Linked DNA regions of Homo sapiens: regions 2, 3 and 4 are each linked to region 1. The links are contacts of gene promoters, found by promoter capture Hi-C in blood cells and fetal thymus (Javierre and others, 2016). All regions are on one chromosome and are shown on one strand. The core of a region is centred on a gene start or on the middle of the fragment in contact, and the rest is flanking DNA. Distances in the headings are between cores, read along the strand shown.

Region 1 (4,310 bases), core at 132-2,631:
ACCTCAGAGAGTACGTGTAAAGATTATGTGAGTTAATGCATGTAAAATGTTAGGCAGAGCTTGCCTCATGCTAAGCACTCAATAAATGGTATTAATATTACTATTCATTTGAATGCTCTTGCATGTATCAGTGAAATAAGGGACAAGAAATAATCAACAGACTCTACAATGGTAAGAATAAGTTTACCAAAATAGGCTCAGGCGAAAGTTTTTCTTCTTTAACAGGCTCAGGTTCTGGCTCAGGTTCTGGCTCTGGCACTGGCTCAGACACTGGCACTGGCACCAGCATAGGTACCTTTTCAAGAGGTTTTGGTAGTTTTTTATCAATGACTTTTCCAGTAGCTGAAGGTTTTGCTTCCTGTAGATGAAACAGAGAGAATGAAATGTTTCTGCATCAAAGGCCACAGTTGGAAGGCGGGCTCTTACAGAAGTTAGGTCAGGAAGAGAGTTACCTTCTTCATAGGCATTTTGGCCTGCAGTTGTTCACTGACTTTGTTACCAATGTCCCCAAGAGCTGTTCTTGGCCTCAGTCCGGGCTTGGAGGTTGCAGCAGGGGCCGTAGGAACGCGCTTTGCGCCTGCCATGTTGATCTTCGCCTTATTTTCAGCATTAATTTTCGAGTTCTGAAAGAAGCAAGACCACTTTAAGAGCTGATCCACGAAGGCTCGAGTAAGTCAAGGGTTAATTAAGGTGGGGCACAAGGAGAAGTTCCCAGAAAGAAAGCCGACTAAAAATGGGTTCCGAGGGAAAACATGGGTCCCAGAGTCTACTCTGCGGCCGTGACAAGTCAGTTTCCGCCGACCTCTACATTTACCAATTGAGGGATTCCCTGATTAGTCCTGGCCAGCCCTAAAATACCGAGAATTTACATTTGAAAGGAAACCGAAAAAGCCTCCAATTGCAGACACCTTCTCTCTGGGAAGGGGGTTACAGAGTTGCTGGCGGGCCCACTCAGGGACCCTCTATCACTTTTTCAAAAGGTTCCCAGTCGACTCTCCACCTCCCCAAAACATTTATCCAATATCCGTCCAGTTCTCTTTCTCACCTTCCTCCCTCCATCCATCGTCCCCCACACTCTCTCACCAGGCCTGGGCCCACCTCGGCGCTCTCTTGGTGAGTCCCCTCCCACCTTCCTCCCCAAATCGCTCCTGCGGCCCTCTCCCGCTCGGGAGGCTCCCGCAGGCGAGGCAGGGAGAGCAGGCAGCAGCTAAGAAGGCCGCGTTAGTTCGCAGTCCGAAGCGGCTCACCCTGGTGACTCGGAGCGCCATGGCTTCCTCTTCACCAGGCAGCAGCTCAGCGGGGAGAAGCAGAACACCGGAGGCCCGACCAGCCAAGGACCTACACCCAGCAGAAACCAACAGCCGTTCCGCCGCAGCACGCCGAGAAGAGCCAGCCTAGCCTCAGATTTAAACCCCGCACTGCTCCCTCCTTATTGGCCTGTTCGTGGCACTCACTCCCTTCCCATTGGCGGCTGCCGGTCGCAGAGAATGCGTTTCCAGGGCGATCGCGCGAAGGCGTTCGAGAGGGGCGGGGCCACAGTGAGGCTAGGCCGGAAGGCCTGGCCAGGCTCTCACGTGGTCTGCCTCTGCGCCTGCGCTCTCGGGCAGCTGCAGCGGCCACCTGGAGAGCAGTGAAGCCAGTGCGCCGCCCACCTGGAAAGGTTAGCCGGGCAAGAGTGTGCGTTGCCAATGCCAGCTCAGGAAAGGCCTAGTGGCCTTTGGAAGGTGACAGAGGCGCGGCCACAGTCTCAGAAGTGTCAAAAGTAGTTTTGGATCTAGTGTTGCACACTTTCCATTTCTACGGTAGCAGCAATAATATAGTTCATGAAAGGCTTTAATAGACATTCTTTCATTTGATCGTTGCAACAACTCTCTGGGTTGGAGGAACTGAAGCTCAGCGACTTAGATGACTTTGCCAGGGTCACACATTAGCAACGGGGGAACTGAATTTAGGGTTTTTTTTTTTGAGGGGGAGGGAGGGGGTGTATCCGTGTTGTTTTCACAACACTGATTGTCCCTTAACAATATTACTTGATTACTTCAAGATTGTCCAGTTTCCCAAGGCCAATTGTTTTGTTTGTTTTAGCTTTCTATTTGGAAATAATTTCATACTTAGACCAGTTGCCAACAAAAATCTTGTAAGGAATATTTCTATGCCCTTTACTCAGATTCAACTATCCTTAACATGTATTTGCCTCTCATGGGAAAATCAGGAAAAACTAAACAAAAAGACATTTTACCCCATTTGCTTTGTCATTTGCTCAGATTCTCTCTAGATCCAAAGAAAAACAAGAGGGTTCTTTTTGCCTTCTACTCCTCAAAACACACCAGCAGCTCAGCAATTGGAGGGGAGGCTGAAGGACAAAAACATTGCTATCCCATAGAGCAACGGTATAAGAGCCAATAGAGACTCCTGGCGCTGGAAGTCACGGATCCGAAAGAAGGCGCCCAATCATTTGGTTTCTTTGGATCGTTATTGAGTCTTCTGTCATCATAGTTCACCCTCCTACTCGAATGCCTCCCGTGGGGCCCTTACCCTTGCTCTCCTCTGCCTGGAATGCCCGCCTCTTCTTGCATTCAAGCCCCTGGGTTCTATTCAGGTAACTCCCATTCATCCTTCAGTTCTGTGTTCAACATCCATTCTCACTCAGTCTTTCTGGGTTTGATCAATCCTTCCTCGCCCCATGCAGGGGCGAGAGGCAAGGGGCGAAGCAGGATTACTTATCCTCTGTGTTCCAGTTTAAAAATTTTTTTTTTTACTTTTTTTTGAGACGGAGTCTCGATCTGTCGCCCAGGCTGGAGTGCAGTGGTGCGATCTCGACTCACTGCAACCTCCACCTCCAGGGTTCACTCCATTCTCCTGCCTCAGCCTCCCGAGTAGCTGGGACGGCAGGCGCCCGCCACAACGGCCGGCTAATTTTTTGTATTTTTGGTAGAGACGGGGTTTCACCATGTTAGCCAGGATGGTCTCGATCTCCTGACTTGGTGATCCGCCCGCCTCGGCCTCCCAAAGTGCTGCGATTACAGGCGTGAGCCACCACGCCCGGCCAAATTTTTCCTTTTATATGCTTTATTTTTTAGAGCAGTTTTAGGTTCGCAGCAAAACTTAGCAGAAAGTATAGAGCATTTCACCTGCCTTCCCCACTATTGACACCCCACATTAAAGTTGTACTTTAATTATAATCTGTTAACCTACATTGACACCACAGTATTACCCAAAGTCCATAGTTTACATTAAGGTTCACTCTAGGTGTTGTGTCTTCTACGGGTTTTGACAAATATATAATGACGTATAATGTCCACCCGCCTCAACCTCCCAAAGTGCTGGTATTGAAGGCGTGAGCCACTGCACCTGGCGGTCAGAATGGTTTCTTTTACTCAAATATGCATTTAAGGTTCTTCCATGTTTTTTTCATGGGTTGGGATCTCATTTTATTTTAGCCCTGAATAATATTGCATTGTCTGGATGTACTAGTTTATTTATTCAGTCACCTACTAAGTGACATCTTGATTGCGTCCAAGTTTTGGTATGAATATAACTGCTACTAACATCTGTGTGCAGATTTTTGAGTGGACGTAAGTTGTTTTTGTTTTTCGTTTGTTTGTTTGTTTTTTGAGACGGAGTCTTGCTTTGTTGCCCAGGCTGGAGTGCGGTGGCGCCATCTAGGCTCACTGCAAGCTCCGCCTCCCGGGTTCACGCCATTCTCCTGCCTCAGCCTCCCAAGTAGCTGGGACTATAGGCGCCCGCCACCAGGCCTGGCTAATTTTTTGTATTTTTAGTACAGACGAGGTTTCACCATGTTAGCCAGGATGGTCTCGATCTCCTGACCTCGTGATCCACCCTCCTCGGCCTCCCAAAGTGCTGGGATTACAGGCGTGAGCCACTGTGCCCGGCTGAGTGGACATAAGTTTTAAACTCATTTGGGTGAATACCAAGGAGCAAGACTGTTGGATCATATAGTATGTTTACTTTTGTAAGAAACCGCCAAACTGTCTTCCAAAGCTGCTCTACCATTTTGCATTCCCATCAGCAATCCTCACAAGCATTTGGTGTTGTCAGTTTTTAAAAAAATTGTAGCCATCCTATTAGGTGTGTAGTGGTAACTCATTGTTTTTTGATTTGCAGTTCTCTAATGACATATGATATTGAGTATCTTTTTCTGTGATTATAATCTGTATAACTTCTCTGTTGAGGTATCTGTTCAGGTATTTTGCCTAGTTTTTGTTTTGTTTTGTTTTTTGAGATAGGGTCTTACTATGTTACCCAGGCTGGAGTGCACTGGTGTGATCATAGCTCACTGTAACCTCAAA
Region 2 (4,666 bases), core at 641-3,140, 110 kb before region 1:
TACTATGTGAATGCCCTCATTCCCAACAAAACAAAATTAATGTCAAGTATTTGCAAATGGAAATTACTACAAATAAATACCTAGGATCCTAAGATTGGCTGATAATTCCATTAAAAGACTGGCCGGGCACAGTAGCTCATGCCTGTAATCCCAGCACCTTGGGAGGCTGAGGCGGGTGGATCACATGAGGTCAGAAGTTCGAGATCAGCTTGGCCAACGTGGCGAAACTCCATCTCTACTAAAAATACAAAAATAAGCTGGGCGTGGTGGTGCATGTCTGTAGTCCCCACTACTCGGGAGGCTGAGGTAGGAGAATCGCTTGAACCCAGAGGCAGAGGTTGCAGTGAGCCGAGATCGCACCACTGCACTCCAGCCTGGGCGACAGAGCAAGGCTCCGTATCAAAAAAAGAAAAGAAAAAAAGACTCCCTTCTAATTTTTCCATAATTAAATAGCCTATACAGGCTGAATATATCTTATCTAAAATGCTTGGGACCAGAAGTGCTTCAGATTTTGGACTGTGGAATATTTGCATATACATGACGTACCTTGGGGATGGAAGCCAAGATTAAAAATGAAACTTATGTTTCATATACAGCTTATACATATAAACTGAAGGTAATTTTACACTTATTTTTTGTGGAGAATGGGGTCTTGCTATATTGGCCAGGCTTGTCTTGAACTCCTGGGCTCAAGCTATCCTCCCGCCTCCGCCTCCCTAAGAGCTAGGATTACAGGCGTGAGCCACCGCGCCTGGCTGAAGGTAATTTTATAAAATATTTTTAATTTGACAAAATTTTTAATTTTGTACATAAAACAAAGTTTTGTTAATGTCCTTATGTGTAGAATTTTCCACTTGTGGCATCACGTCATCATTCAAAAAGCTTTGGATTTTGGAGCATTTCAGATTTCGGATATTTGGATTAAGGATGCTCAACCTATACTAATTATGAGCTATCCTTAGTGAAATATTGTACATTTCCATTCTCTACATATTGAACTCTACAGTTCAAAATGCAAAGAGAGAAACTTAAAAAGAACTTACAAGTTGGCCACACTATCCATATATATTCAAATTCCAAGTCATGTAAAATATAAATTCTTAAAAAATAAGGCTTTTTAAAAAATACAGTAGGTTGGAACCAATGGATTCTAATTCAACAATCCATTGCAAATGGACAGAAATTTTACTTGGAAGGGCTTCTCCAAGATTATTTCTATTAATTACCAGGCCAATGTTCTATAATACATTTTCTCTTTTTTTCCCCCTACTATAGTGCTGTAGATACAATACATTTTCTTGACTTGGGTCCACAATTCTGATAAAAATAATTATATCCTAAATGACAAGTTTGTCAGGTCATGCTTGTCTTTTTTTTTTTTTTTGGATACAGAGTCTCACCCTGTTGCCCAGGCTGGAGTGCAGTGGCACAATCTTGGCTCACTGCAACCTCCACCTCCCGGGTTCACATGCTTGTCTATTTACATCAGCAGCATAGTGCTGTCCAGTGGCTACAATGATTTAAAATACTTCTGGCAGGGCGGGGTGGCTCATGCCTGTAATCCCAGCACTTTGGGAGGCCGAGGCAGATGGATCACCTGAGGTCAGGAGTTCGAGATCAGCCTCGATAACATGGTGAAACCCTGTCTCTACTAAAAATCCAAAAATTAGCCAGGCATGGTGGTGTGCACCTGTAATCCCAGCTACTAGGGAGGCTGAGACAGGAGAATCGCTTGTACCTGGGAGGTAGAGGTTGCAGTGAGTCAAGATCGTGCCACTGCACTCCAGCCTGGGTGACAGAGCAAGACTTCGTCTCAAAAATAAATAAATAAATACTTCCTTTAGGATAATCCTTTAAGAAAGATGAAGCCCATATAAACTTTGCAAGCATTCCTCACCACTCCCAATATTATTTGCAGTAATTTAGAGATTCCTTACTTCAACAGTTGCATTTTCATTTTTTATTTATTTACTTTTTGTAGAGATGATGTTTTGTCATGTTGCCCAGGCTGGGCTCCAACTCCTGGGCTCAAGCTATCCTTGCTCCTTCACCTCCCAAAGTGCTGGGATTACAGGTGTGAGCCGATGCACCGGCCTACAGCTGCATTTTTAAAGCATTACTTCTAAATCACAGCAGTTCTATATGCAAATTAGGCTAATTCTGGGCTAAAGATCTAAGAAAATACCTCATTCCAACTTTAATAAAGACATCCATGAAACAAAACTCACTTTAAAAACTTCATTCTATTAAAATACAACCCAAATACAACAACTAGTATTTTTCTGTTAAGTTTCAAACTATACTACCAATGAAAACAACTTTCTAGATAATTAAATGTGGTCTCAAGTTTATTATGATGGAAATAATATACATAGAAGTATGAGTGAAAAGGCAACAAATTACTTGTTTGAAATTAAAAGAGTATGTGTACACATGGACATAAAAATAATAAAGAAAAATTTTTTAAAAAAGAAATTAGGAGAATAATTCTAATGGTAAATACCCAGCATATACCTACCTACCTATCCATCTATATCTATCTATCCTTCCATCCATCCATCCATCTCCATATATATTCACATAGCACACATTGCTAAAAAGAGAAGGCTTATACAAGCAAGTGCATTAAACAATGATTTTGTAGCCTGGAACAAACCTAAAGAGAAAAAAATCTATTTTGTATGCTTAATATTACTGTACATTAATATGTTTCCATAAAGACCTGTGATCTCACTTTCATTAGTCTCTCCCTTCATGAGGTAAAATCACTGCACTGTGTTGTACAGTGCTCTGCCCTAAGTTATTCTAGGTCTTCCAAATTTTTCATGAGTTTGTTATTTCCTTTAAACAGCAGTTAGTTTCAGTTTTTGTTTTATTTCAAATATTTTTCAAGCTTTTGTAAGCATACAATTATATCTGACTATACCATTTCCTCCCCATTACCATGTTCTCAATGTGAGAATGATCAGCATGCATACCTGGATTGCATTATATAGGAAAGAAAAAATAAGCCGAACAAACTACTTTCAGCATTGCTACAAGATTTAAATGAATTTGTAAGAGCTCAACTGAAATATACCAGTTTCTTAACAAATAAAAAGCCTTGGTTTTCTTTTTCTAAGTAAAGTATTTACAAGCCAATTATGTGAAATAGACATGTATTTAAATGTCCCTAAGCAAGTGTAATAAGTGTAAACTCTCCTGTATCTCTGTGTGCATATAATTTAATCTCAGTCTTAATAGTGTTTGTAGTTTGGGGAAAAGATACAAAGTTTGTTATTTCTTAAAACAAAAACACATCTTTCCAGTATTTAAAAAATGTTAATTTTATGAAATTCTATTTTTATCAATGCTACAGTTAAGATTATTTTTATATTTCCTAGTATAAAAAAGATACACCAAAATACCTGTGTGGCCGTAATTCGAGCACATGGATTAAATAAGAATAAGCCTTGTATGAGATCTAGTAAGTCGTCTCCTGCTGCACTGAAGATGTGATGCAAAGGTATTCCAGGGAAACTCTTAAATGTCACATAATCTGGAAGACTACACATGTCCTGTAAAAATAATTTTGTAATTCAAACTTAAGGATTAAAGGCATATAGATTGCAAATGAAATAAATCATTTTCAGGTGATATGATGGTTTATATAGAAAATTCCAAGAAATCTATTAAAAAGTCCTAGAACTAGTAGTAAGACAAGGCTGAAAAGGATATAAATTGAAAATTTAAAAATCAATTGTAATTTTGTACACTAGCAATAAATATGTGGACATCAAAATTAAAAACACAGTACTATTTATAATCACCCCAAAAAGAAAAATGAAACAGGTGAAAAATGTAACAAAACATGTATAGGGTAATATACTATAAGCTATACAATGCTGATGAAAGTCATCAAAAGATCTCAATAAATGGTGAAACATATCGTGTTCACATATTGGAATATTCAACAGAGGAAGGATGTTAATTATCCTCAAATTGATTTGCAAGTCTAATGTAATTTTTATCAAAATCCTAGCAAAATTATCTTAGATATAGGACCAATTATTCTACAATTTATATGGAAAGGCAAAGGACTACAGTAGCTAAAATGATTTTGAAAAAGAACAATAAAGTGGGAGGACTCATTTTACCTGATTTCAAGATTTAACATATAGCTACTTTGATTAAGACTCTGTTGTATTGGCAGAGAGAGAGATACATAAATCAATGGAACTCAATAAAGGACTTAGAAATCCACACAAATCTGCCAAAAGGATTTTTGAAAAAAGTGAAAAACTAAATCAATGAAGAGACCGTCATTTCAACAAATACTGCTGGAACACTTCGACATACATGTGCAAAAATCTGAACTTGGCTGGGTGTGGCAGCTCACGCTTGTAATCTCAGCACTTTGGGAGATTGAGGCAGGAGGGTCACTTGAGCTCAGGAGTTCGAGACCAGCCTGGACAAGAAAGTGAGACCCCACTCCAACCTGGGGAACAGAGTGAGACTGTCTCAAAGAAAAAAAAAAACAAAAACTGAACCTTGCCCTAAGTCTCACACATCATATAAAGGTAAACTCTAAACAGATCTTGGACTTAAGTATAAAACTACAAAACTTGTAGAAAAAAATACAAAAAAAATTGTCACAGCCAAGGGCATAGTGGCTCATGCCTGTAAT
Region 3 (4,446 bases), core at 345-2,844, 120 kb before region 1:
ACTCCAGCCTGGGCGACAGAGCGAGACTCCATCAAAAGAAAAAAAAAAAAGAAGAAGAAGAAAAAAATAGAAGAAAAGAAAAACATGAGATTACATTGATCAAAGTCAAGGTCATCTATAAGACGTATTTGAAAGGTCGTATTCATCATTATTTTCAGTGGTGTGGTCTGGAATGGCCCAAAGCTGAGTTGAAATGCAGCCTTTGGTATCCTCTTATCTTTCATGCTGGGCCCTTTGTCCCAGGACTTGAGCAGGACACACACACAGGGCCTGCATGGGGTAGTGAGGTCCAGGGGTTAGGTTAGCAGGCAGTTGACAGGCACCACAAGGGAAACTGATAATCTGGATCAGAGTAAGTTGCTACTGCAGAAATAGCAAGCATTAATTAGCGTAATCAGATAAACTAGATCAGACCACAGGCAATAAACCAGTGCTAGGCAGTGAGATTGCATATGTTAATTTGATTCCCCATTCAGCAAGAATTGTTCTGGTTTTGCCTCTGACACCTCCCAAACTGTCTTTCAAAATCAGTTGGAAATTTTGCAGAAGAGTAAAGAAGAAGCTTACGTGATGGCAGATGCTTTCAGAATTGCATTTGAGCAACAATTAATGAGAAAAAATGACCAGGCACTACAATTGACACAAATGGATAAAATGCATAAAAAAGCAACAAAATGGATGAATTGGAAGCACCTTAAAGAGGATGGTAACTATGAATTATAATGGCAATAAGTGGGTGTAATTTTAGTTGTTTTGTTTATAATCCAAGTTGATGAAGCACACTTAATCCAATGTGGGCAAAAATAATTGAAACTTCACATATGGTTGTGGTTTACTTAAAAACTTAGCAACTATGGAAAAAAAGGAGTCATTGGATATTACATGTGCAGGTGAACTACTGGAATCCATAAACCATAACATAACAGGAATATTTATTTTCTAGTACTCTTCTGTTTCATTTAAATAAGACCATGTTTAGTGAAAAAACTTTACAATAAAAGTGCTAGGTGATTAAAAGGAAACTGCCAAGAAGGAAGTAATGTGAAAAATGTCACTTAAACATGACATTAAATGTATCTATCTAATTAAACTTTATTGAAATGTATGCTTTTGAGAAGGAAATTGAGGAATAGAGGAAAAACCTTAAGTTGGACAAATTAATAAAATATTCTTAGAAAAAATGAAGCAGAAGTTTAGGTTTAGGTTTTGGTTCACGAACCCATCAAAAATTTATGGCCAGGCTGGGTGTGGTGGCTCACGCCTGTAATCCTAGCACTTTGAGAGGCCAAGGAGGGTGGATCACCTGAGGTCAGGAGTTCGAGAACAGCCTGGCCAACATGGCAAAACCCCATCTCTACTAAAAACACAAAAATTAGCCGGGCGTGGTAGCACATGCCTGTAATACCACCTGCTCAGGAGGCTGAGGCAGAAGAATCGCTTGAACCCAGGAGGCAGAGGTTGCAGTGAGCTGAGATCGCGCCACTGCACTGGGCGACGGAATGAGACTCCATCTCAAAAAAAAAAAAATGATCAGTATTGAGTATTATTATATCTGTGTATTAAAAAATATATTAAAATAGCATGAGAGAATTGAAGTAGATCTTCCAGTATGAACAAAGTAGCTGTTATTTTTTAGAAATCTGTTTCTCTAAGTAGTTCATACCAATTTTTATTCATCAGTATTATTCTGTAGAATTCATATTGCTTCAGTTTAAAATGTCAAATTATAATTTGAAACCATTTATCAGTTGAGAAAGAATCAAGTGAAGTTTATAAGAATTTTAAATGTTTTGTAGAAAAATTCTAGGATGACTGTATTTCTAAATATTTTCTTATCTGTCAGATCTATAATTCTAACATCTCTTATATTCAGGTGAATTTAGAAAGACTAATACACATCTTGTAATATTTAAAATGATCTTAGGGGAACACCATCATAGAAAATATTTAAAATGGAACCTGTTGGCTGGGCGTCGTGGCTCATGCCTGTAATCCCAGCACTTTGGGAGGCCGAGGTGGGTGGATCATTTGAGGTCAGGAGTTTGAGACCAGCCTGGCCAACATGGTGAAACCCTGCCTCTACTAAAAATACAAAAATTAGCCGGGCTTGGTCGCAGGCGCCTGTAGTCCCAGCTACTTGGGAGGCTGAGGCAGGAGAATTGCTTGAACCTGGGAAGTGGAGGTTGCAGTGAGCCAAGATTGCACTACTGCACTCCAGCCTGGGGGAAAGAGCAAGACTGTCTCAAACAAAAAAAAAAAAAAAAGAAAAAAAAGAAAAAAAAAAGAAACCTGGCCATGTGCGGTGGCTCAGGCCTGTAATCCCAGCACTTTGGCAGGCTGAGGCAGGCAGATCACCTGAGGTCAGGAGTTCAAGACCAGCCTGGCCAACATTGAGAAACCCCATCTCTACTAAAAATACAAAAATTAGCTGGGTGTGATGGCACTCACCTGTAATCCCAGCTACTCGGGAAGCTGAGGCAGGAGAATCGCTTGAACCTGGAAGGCAGAGGTTGCAGTGAGCCAAGATTGCGCCACTGTACTCTAGCCTGGGTGACAGAGCAAGACTCTGTCTCAAAATAATAATAATAATAGTAATAATAATAATAATAATAAAATGAAAGCTTTATAGTAGATAGCCATTTTGTTTGAAATATTTATTTTCAAACAGTATATATTACTAATAGTATAGGAGTCAGCTGTCGTGAATTTTAGTTTCATTAACTAAGCTTTCCCCCTTTTCTTTGCTGAAAAGGGTAAGAAGTGATGCAGAGGGATGATAGAAATAGAAGCAGTAAATCAGAACTACAGAGTAGGGAAATGCAGATCATAGAAGCTACATGTTTGGAGTGTTCATTAGATGGAAGCCAGGACAAAACAGGAAAATATAATGTTTTGTAACACTTATTCTGAGAAAGTCATTCATATTTTCTTGAAATTAATTTCTAAAAATGTTTTCTGACACGAAACTTTTGAGAAAATATAATGGCTAAATTCCCGACAGTGTTTTAGTAGCTTTTTTTTTTTTTTTTTTGAGGCAGCATCTTATCCTGTTGCCCAGGCTGGAGTGCAGTGGTGTGATCATGACTCACTGCAGCCTCTACCTCATGGGCTCAAGCAATCCTCCCACCTCAGCCTCCCTAGCAGCTGGGACTTCAGGCATGTGCCACCATGCCAGGCTAAATTTTGTATTTGTTTATAGAGATGAGGTCTCACTGTGTTACCCAGGCTGGTCTCAAACTCCTGGGCTCAAGCGGTCCTCCCTCCTCGGCCTCCCAAAATGCTGTGGTTACAGATGTGATCCACTGCACCTGGCCAACAATGTCTTATAATAAATACAAAATAATGTATTTAGATAATATGGTCATTTTCTATAATAAACTCTTCATAAAAGCTGAAGGTACAACTTTAATGTTCAATCCAGGTTAGGTGATTTTGCCAGGGAAAAAGCTAACATGGTCCATGTATTTAGCCTTTTAGGAACCAGTGGAAAACACTAAGAATACCTGGTTCTACCACGGACCACAGCTATGTGTAGATAATCTTCCTCAGACACCTCCTCTCTCAGCTAAGCCCTTAATAGCAGTTGGATTGTAAAATCCTCTTTGAGGACAGCCCTGGTGTTTTGTGCTAATTGAAGGCAGATCTTCTTAGAAAGTCAGATTGTAAATATTTGTTTGTTTTGATAGAGGTGGAAAGAAAAGTGATGGGAAAAAGAAGAGACGAAGGGGAAAGTCAGGGTTAAAGTAATCTTAATCTTACGAATGCCTGTCAGACCCTGTCACCTGCCTGCAAGGCCTGCAACCCTGTGTGGAGCTTGGCCATTAGGATAGTGCAGTGTAGACAAAGCTGCATTTTTCTCAAGAGCTAGATTCATACTCATTTCAGCACTTGAGAATATGTGCATTTGATGTTCCATAATTCCTACCTTCCACAGTGTAAGAGACAGGGGAAACCAAAGTGTTTTCCTATTCACACAGCACTTACCACTCAGCTCAGCGCTTCTGACACCAGATGCTAGGGGTGGGGGATTCCCCACACACCAGCTGGGTATCCTATCATTTCCCTCAATTCTCACACTGTCTACCTGGAGTTAGAGTCAGATCCCATAAGTTAAAGGCTCAGTCCCACAAGATGGCCTGCACTCCAAATGCCAGTCAAAAGCACAGAGTTGTCTCTGCTGCTCCTGACTGACTGGCTGTATGTACATTGGGACTCCCATGACGCCCTCCTCAGGCTCCATTGATTTGCTAGGATGCCTCACAGAACTCCGGGAAACACTTCCGTTTACCAGTTTATTATAAAGGATCTTACAAAGGATGCAGATGAACAGCCAGATAAAGAGATGGACAGGGCAAGGCACGTGGGAAGGGATGCTCTCTTTGGCGTACCACCCCTCAGGAACCTCACATGCTCAGCTATCTGGAAGCTCCCCAGACCCTTTTGGGT
Region 4 (4,493 bases), core at 1,286-3,785, 91 kb before region 1:
TGGGAGGATCGCTTGAGTGCAGGACTTTGAGACCAGCCTGGGCAACATGGCGAAACCCATCTCTATAAAAACTTTAAAAAATTAGCCAGCCATGGTGGGGCGTGCCTGTGGCCCCAGATACTTGGAAGGCTGAGGTAGCACGATTGCTTGAACCCAAGAGGTCAAGGCAGCAGTGAGTACTGTTTGCACAACCGCACTTCAGCCTGGGCAACAGAGCGAGATCCTGTCTCAAAAAAGAAAAAGAAAAAATACAGAATTTGAAAATCTTTGCAGATCCTTAAAACGGTCTTGGAAATTAACAAAATGCCACTGGGACAAAAATTATAAAATCTATCATTCCTATTTAATGTGATTTTCTGTTTTTTCACATCAAAAATACAAATGGAAAATATAATTACCAATATGAAAAATTCAAATATCAAGACATTGCTCTGTTTAGAGAATTTTCATTTACATAGAAGGATACAGAATCAGCACTGACCAACATAATAAAAATGGGTCCAATAAATCAGATGATTAGGTAGAAGAATATCCACTGAAATTCTAGATTATCTAACTAAAATGTTAAAGTATAAATTGTTCCCATTTACAAGGTAAATGTCTTAGGATTAAGTTAGACTCTGTTTGAAAAGGGGCTATGTATTTTTTCATCGTGGTAAAGTATACCTAACATAAAAATGACAGGTTTTTTTTTTGTTTGTTTTTTGTTTTTCCCTGAGAGGGAGTCTTTCTCTGTCGCCCAGGCTGGAGTGCGGTGGTGCAATCTCTGCTCACTGCAACTTCTGCCTCTCTGGTTCAAGCAATTCTCCTGCCTCAGCCTCCTGAGTAGCTAGGATTACAGGCGTGCGCCACCATGCCCAGCTAATTCTTTTGTATTTTTAGTAGAGACGGGGTTTCACCATGTTGGCCAGGCTGGTCTCAAACTCCTGACCTCGTGGGTCTGCCTGCCTTGGCCTCCCAAAGTGCTGGGATTACAGGCATGAGTCACCGCGCCTGGCCAAATGGCAGTATTTTTTAAGACGGTATCTATCAACAATGATTCCTTAACTCTGCCAAGATAGTTCAGAGAAGCCAGTTGATGCTCATTTCTGATCAAACTCCTGCACATGTAGCTTTAAGAGATTCTTACCTGGTTACAACCTGATGTGTATAAGCTCTATTGGGGCTCCCAAAAGATTTGGCCAGGCCAAAATCTGCCAGTTTTAGAACTCCATTTTCATCTAGCAACAAGTTGTTTGGTTTCAGATCCTATATGACGGAAGTTTTAAACAAACAAATAAGCAGGGTAGGGGAGAACACTGTAGTGCTACATTTAGTTGGCATAACTTTAAACTTAGCAAAAACAAGGTAACACCTGAAATCTAAACAATCAATTTTTTTCCCACTGATATAAAATCCCATCAAAGCAAAATTGGATTGGTTATAATATATAACCTTGGTAAGGAACTTAATTTCACTAAGCCATAATTTACATACTTCATAGAGTTTCTGTGAGGATTAAATCTGATATTTTCTGTAGTCTAGTGTAATAACTGGCTCATAGTAGGCACTCAATAAATGGTTCCTACTATTAATAATAAATATGAACTTTCATAATATACGTTGTTAATGTATAAGAATGAGGATGACATTCTTCAAAATCCATGCTAAAAAGACATCAGCAATAACCTAAGAGGGATTCCAAACTTACGATATGAGAATTACTAGTTATAAATTATATATTCTTAGCTACTTATCTAAATAGCTAGGTAGCTAGCATCTACCTAGCTAAATTATCAGCTTTGTTCTAAAAGCTGAATGTTCCCACTATTTCATAAACTGTATTTTGTACCTTGAATTTTAGAGCTACAAGAAACATTACTTTTCTAGTATTTTGGCATTGTATGAGTTAATCCAAGACCATCTCTATATTTTTTTCCCCACAACAACATTGTAGCACAAAGAATACTGAACTTAAAGCCAAAAGACCTATGTTCTTTTTTTTTTTTTTGAGACAGGGTTTCACTCTGTCACCCAGACTAGAGTGCAGTGGTGAGGTCTCAGCTCACTGCAACCCCCACCTCCTGGGCTCAGGTGATCCCCCAACCTCAGCCTCCTGAGCAGCTGGGACTACAGGTGTGCACCACTGCACCCAGCTAATTTCTGTATTTTTTGTAGAGATGAGTTTTCACTATATTGCCCAGGCTGGTCTAGAACTCCTGGGCTCGAGATATCTACTTGCCTCAGCCTCCCAAAGTGCTGGCAACACAAAAGTGAGCCACCATGCCTGGGTCAAAACCTATGTTTTAATACTCTGTCCATTATCAGCAGCCAACCTTGAAAAAAAATATAACCATGGTCAGGTCACTTAGCAACTTAGCTCTTCATCTATTAAAAAATGAGGAGGCCGGGCGCAATGGCTCACGCCTGTAATCCCAGCACTTTGGGAGGCCAAGATGGGCAGATCACGAGGCCAGGAGATCGAGACCATTCTGGCTAACACGGTGAAACCCCGTCTCTACTAAAAAAATACAAAAAATTAGCTGGGCGTGGTGGCGGGCACCTGTGGTCCCAGCTACTCGGGAGGCTGAGGCAGGAGAATGGCATGAAACCAGGAGACGGAGCTTGCAGTGAGCAAGAGATCGCGCCACTGCACTCCAGCCTGGGTGACAGAGCAAGATTCCATCTCAAAAAAAAAAAAAAAAAAAAATGAGGGACTGGATCTCTTCCAGTTCTAAATTTCACAAAGTAATATGGAGTCCTTACAGCACCAACTGCTGGAACAAGTGAAGGGAATAATATATAGCAAAAAGATGGGATAAAACAGTCAGCTATAAATTCATTGTTAAACAATTTACATATTCAGACCACTATGTACCAAATTGGCTATATAAAACTTGACTAGTATAAAGAAGCAATATTAAAAACCTTACCCTATGTAGGATCCAATGTTGATGTAAATATTCTAATCCTTGAAGAGTCATCAACATGTAGGCTTTGATGTGTGATGGTGTCAGCACAAGACTATTATCCTTTATTATAACCTGTAAAGCAAGTATACAATATACAGGTACCCTTTATTATTTCAAATAAACTCTACCACATAAAACAATTTACAGACTTAAAATGTAAGTATCAATACAGGAGACTCTCAAAAGAGGTTATCTAAGTTTCCTCAGGAAGCCCTGTCAAAATCTCCAGAGTTAGATGGGTAGGGAGAGCATTTCTGGTTTGAAAAGAAAGCAGTGCTTTGTCCTCTACTGCTTTCGCATGAAAGTAGCAAACACCTGTTGTTTCTGCTTGCATCTTCTGACAATAGCAGTTAGTGTTCCTTTGGGAAGCCATCTCTTCTCAGCTTAGTCCACATGGTTAAGGTAGGACTGAGTCAACCTAAGGCCTCCAGAGGTAGGCACATGACCCAGGCATCCCCATTATCACACTGCAGTCTCCTGGCCAAGTGATTGGTTCAGGGATACAAGACAAGTCAATCAACCAGGCCAAGTACTTGTGCTAGAATCAAAGAAAAGAAAGCACTTTCGTTCCTCAGGTATTATTAAACTCTACAAACATATACCTAGAAGCATCTGGAACACCATATTGAGAACTGTACACATGAAGAATGCAACAGAGAAGAAAATGGAGCTTAGTTAAAGCGTAAGACTGAGTTTTGATGGCATTATTTATGAGCTGTGCCTAATGTCAGTTTATTCTAGATTTATCAGTTAGGAACTAAAAGTTCCCCTTTTCTTTTTTTAAAATCAGATTTAAGGTAAAGCATACCCTTTTTAGTGTATAGTTCCATGAGTTTTGACAAATGCATCCAGTCATGTAACCACCACTATAATCAAAGCATAGTTCCGTAACCTCCCCAAATTCCCTGAGGCCCCTCTGTACTTACTCCTTTCCTTTACCCCAAAGCCCCCATAACCGCTGATCTGGTTTCTGGTTCCTTTCATTTTGCCTTTTCCAGAATATCATATAAATGAAATGGTTCAATACATAGTCTTTTTAGCCTGGCTTCTTTCACTTAGTATAATGCATTTCAGATTCATCTATGTTGCTGCATTTATCAATAGTGTGTTTCTATTCCTGAGTAGTATTTCAGTTTGTTTGTACAGTTAGAATGAGGGATGTTTGGATTGTTCCAGTTTTGATAATTATTAATAAAGCCAAACATCTGTACCAACTGAATTCTGGCATACGTTTTTGTTTCTTTTTTTTTTCTTTTTTCGAGATGGGAATCTCACTCTGTCACCCAGGATGGAGTGCAATGGTGCAATCCATAGCCTAGTGGTGAGTCCATAGCCTATTATGATAGGTCCTTCCAGGATCAATACCATTAGTATTGTGATCTATAACAGCATCACTAATATTGTGATCGATACCACTAATCAATAATCTTGTGATCTAGCAATACCACTGCTAGGTATTTATCTAAAAGAAAGAGGCCGGGCATGGTGGCTCACGCTTATAATCCCAGCACTTTGGGAGGCTCAGGCAGGTAGATCGCCAGA

The links. Contacts are between HindIII fragments. The CHiCAGO score rates a contact against its expected background, and 5 or more counts as called.
Region 2: a fragment that was not itself captured here is called in contact with the fragment with the promoter of CCNB1 in region 1 in 12 of 17 cell types (non-activated CD4 T cells, monocytes, neutrophils and 9 more); the score reaches 8.1 in non-activated CD4 T cells.
Region 3: a contact is called between a fragment that was not itself captured here and the fragment with the promoter of CCNB1 in region 1, in 1 of 17 cell types (neutrophils). The highest score is 9.9, in neutrophils.
Region 4: a contact is called between a fragment that was not itself captured here and the fragment with the promoter of CCNB1 in region 1, in 14 of 17 cell types (neutrophils, total CD8 T cells, naive CD8 T cells and 11 more). The highest score is 16.2, in neutrophils.

What each region holds. Positions count from the first base shown.
Region 1 is chr5:69,164,221-69,168,530 of GRCh38, reverse strand. CCNB1 (cyclin B1) reads right to left here and starts at 1,381. Exons shown (of 9, transcript NM_031966.4): 1 at 1,248-1,381; 2 at 453-623; 3 at 188-358. The coding sequence starts at 1,268. RefSeq lists enhancers at 1,126-1,355, 736-1,701. The HindIII fragment of the contact is 10,262 bases long and covers 1-4,310 here.
Region 2 is chr5:69,271,783-69,276,448 of GRCh38, reverse strand. It overlaps CDK7 (cyclin dependent kinase 7), which reads right to left. Exons shown (of 12, transcript NM_001799.4): 10 at 3,408-3,557. It also overlaps a transcript of CCDC125 not described here. Among named protein-coding and RNA genes, the nearest start is that of CDK7, 39 kb to the right of the region's middle. The HindIII fragment of the contact is 2,011 bases long and covers 885-2,895 here.
Region 3 is chr5:69,288,448-69,292,893 of GRCh38, reverse strand. It overlaps CCDC125 (coiled-coil domain containing 125), which reads left to right. Exons shown (of 12, transcript NM_176816.5): 10 at 532-706. Among named protein-coding and RNA genes, the nearest start is that of CCDC125, 42 kb to the left of the region's middle. The HindIII fragment of the contact is 2,059 bases long and covers 565-2,623 here.
Region 4 is chr5:69,256,573-69,261,065 of GRCh38, reverse strand. CDK7 (cyclin dependent kinase 7) reads right to left here. Exons shown (of 12, transcript NM_001799.4): 6 at 2,913-3,023; 7 at 1,130-1,248. Among named protein-coding and RNA genes, the nearest start is that of CDK7, 24 kb to the right of the region's middle. The HindIII fragment of the contact is 5,798 bases long and covers 1-4,493 here.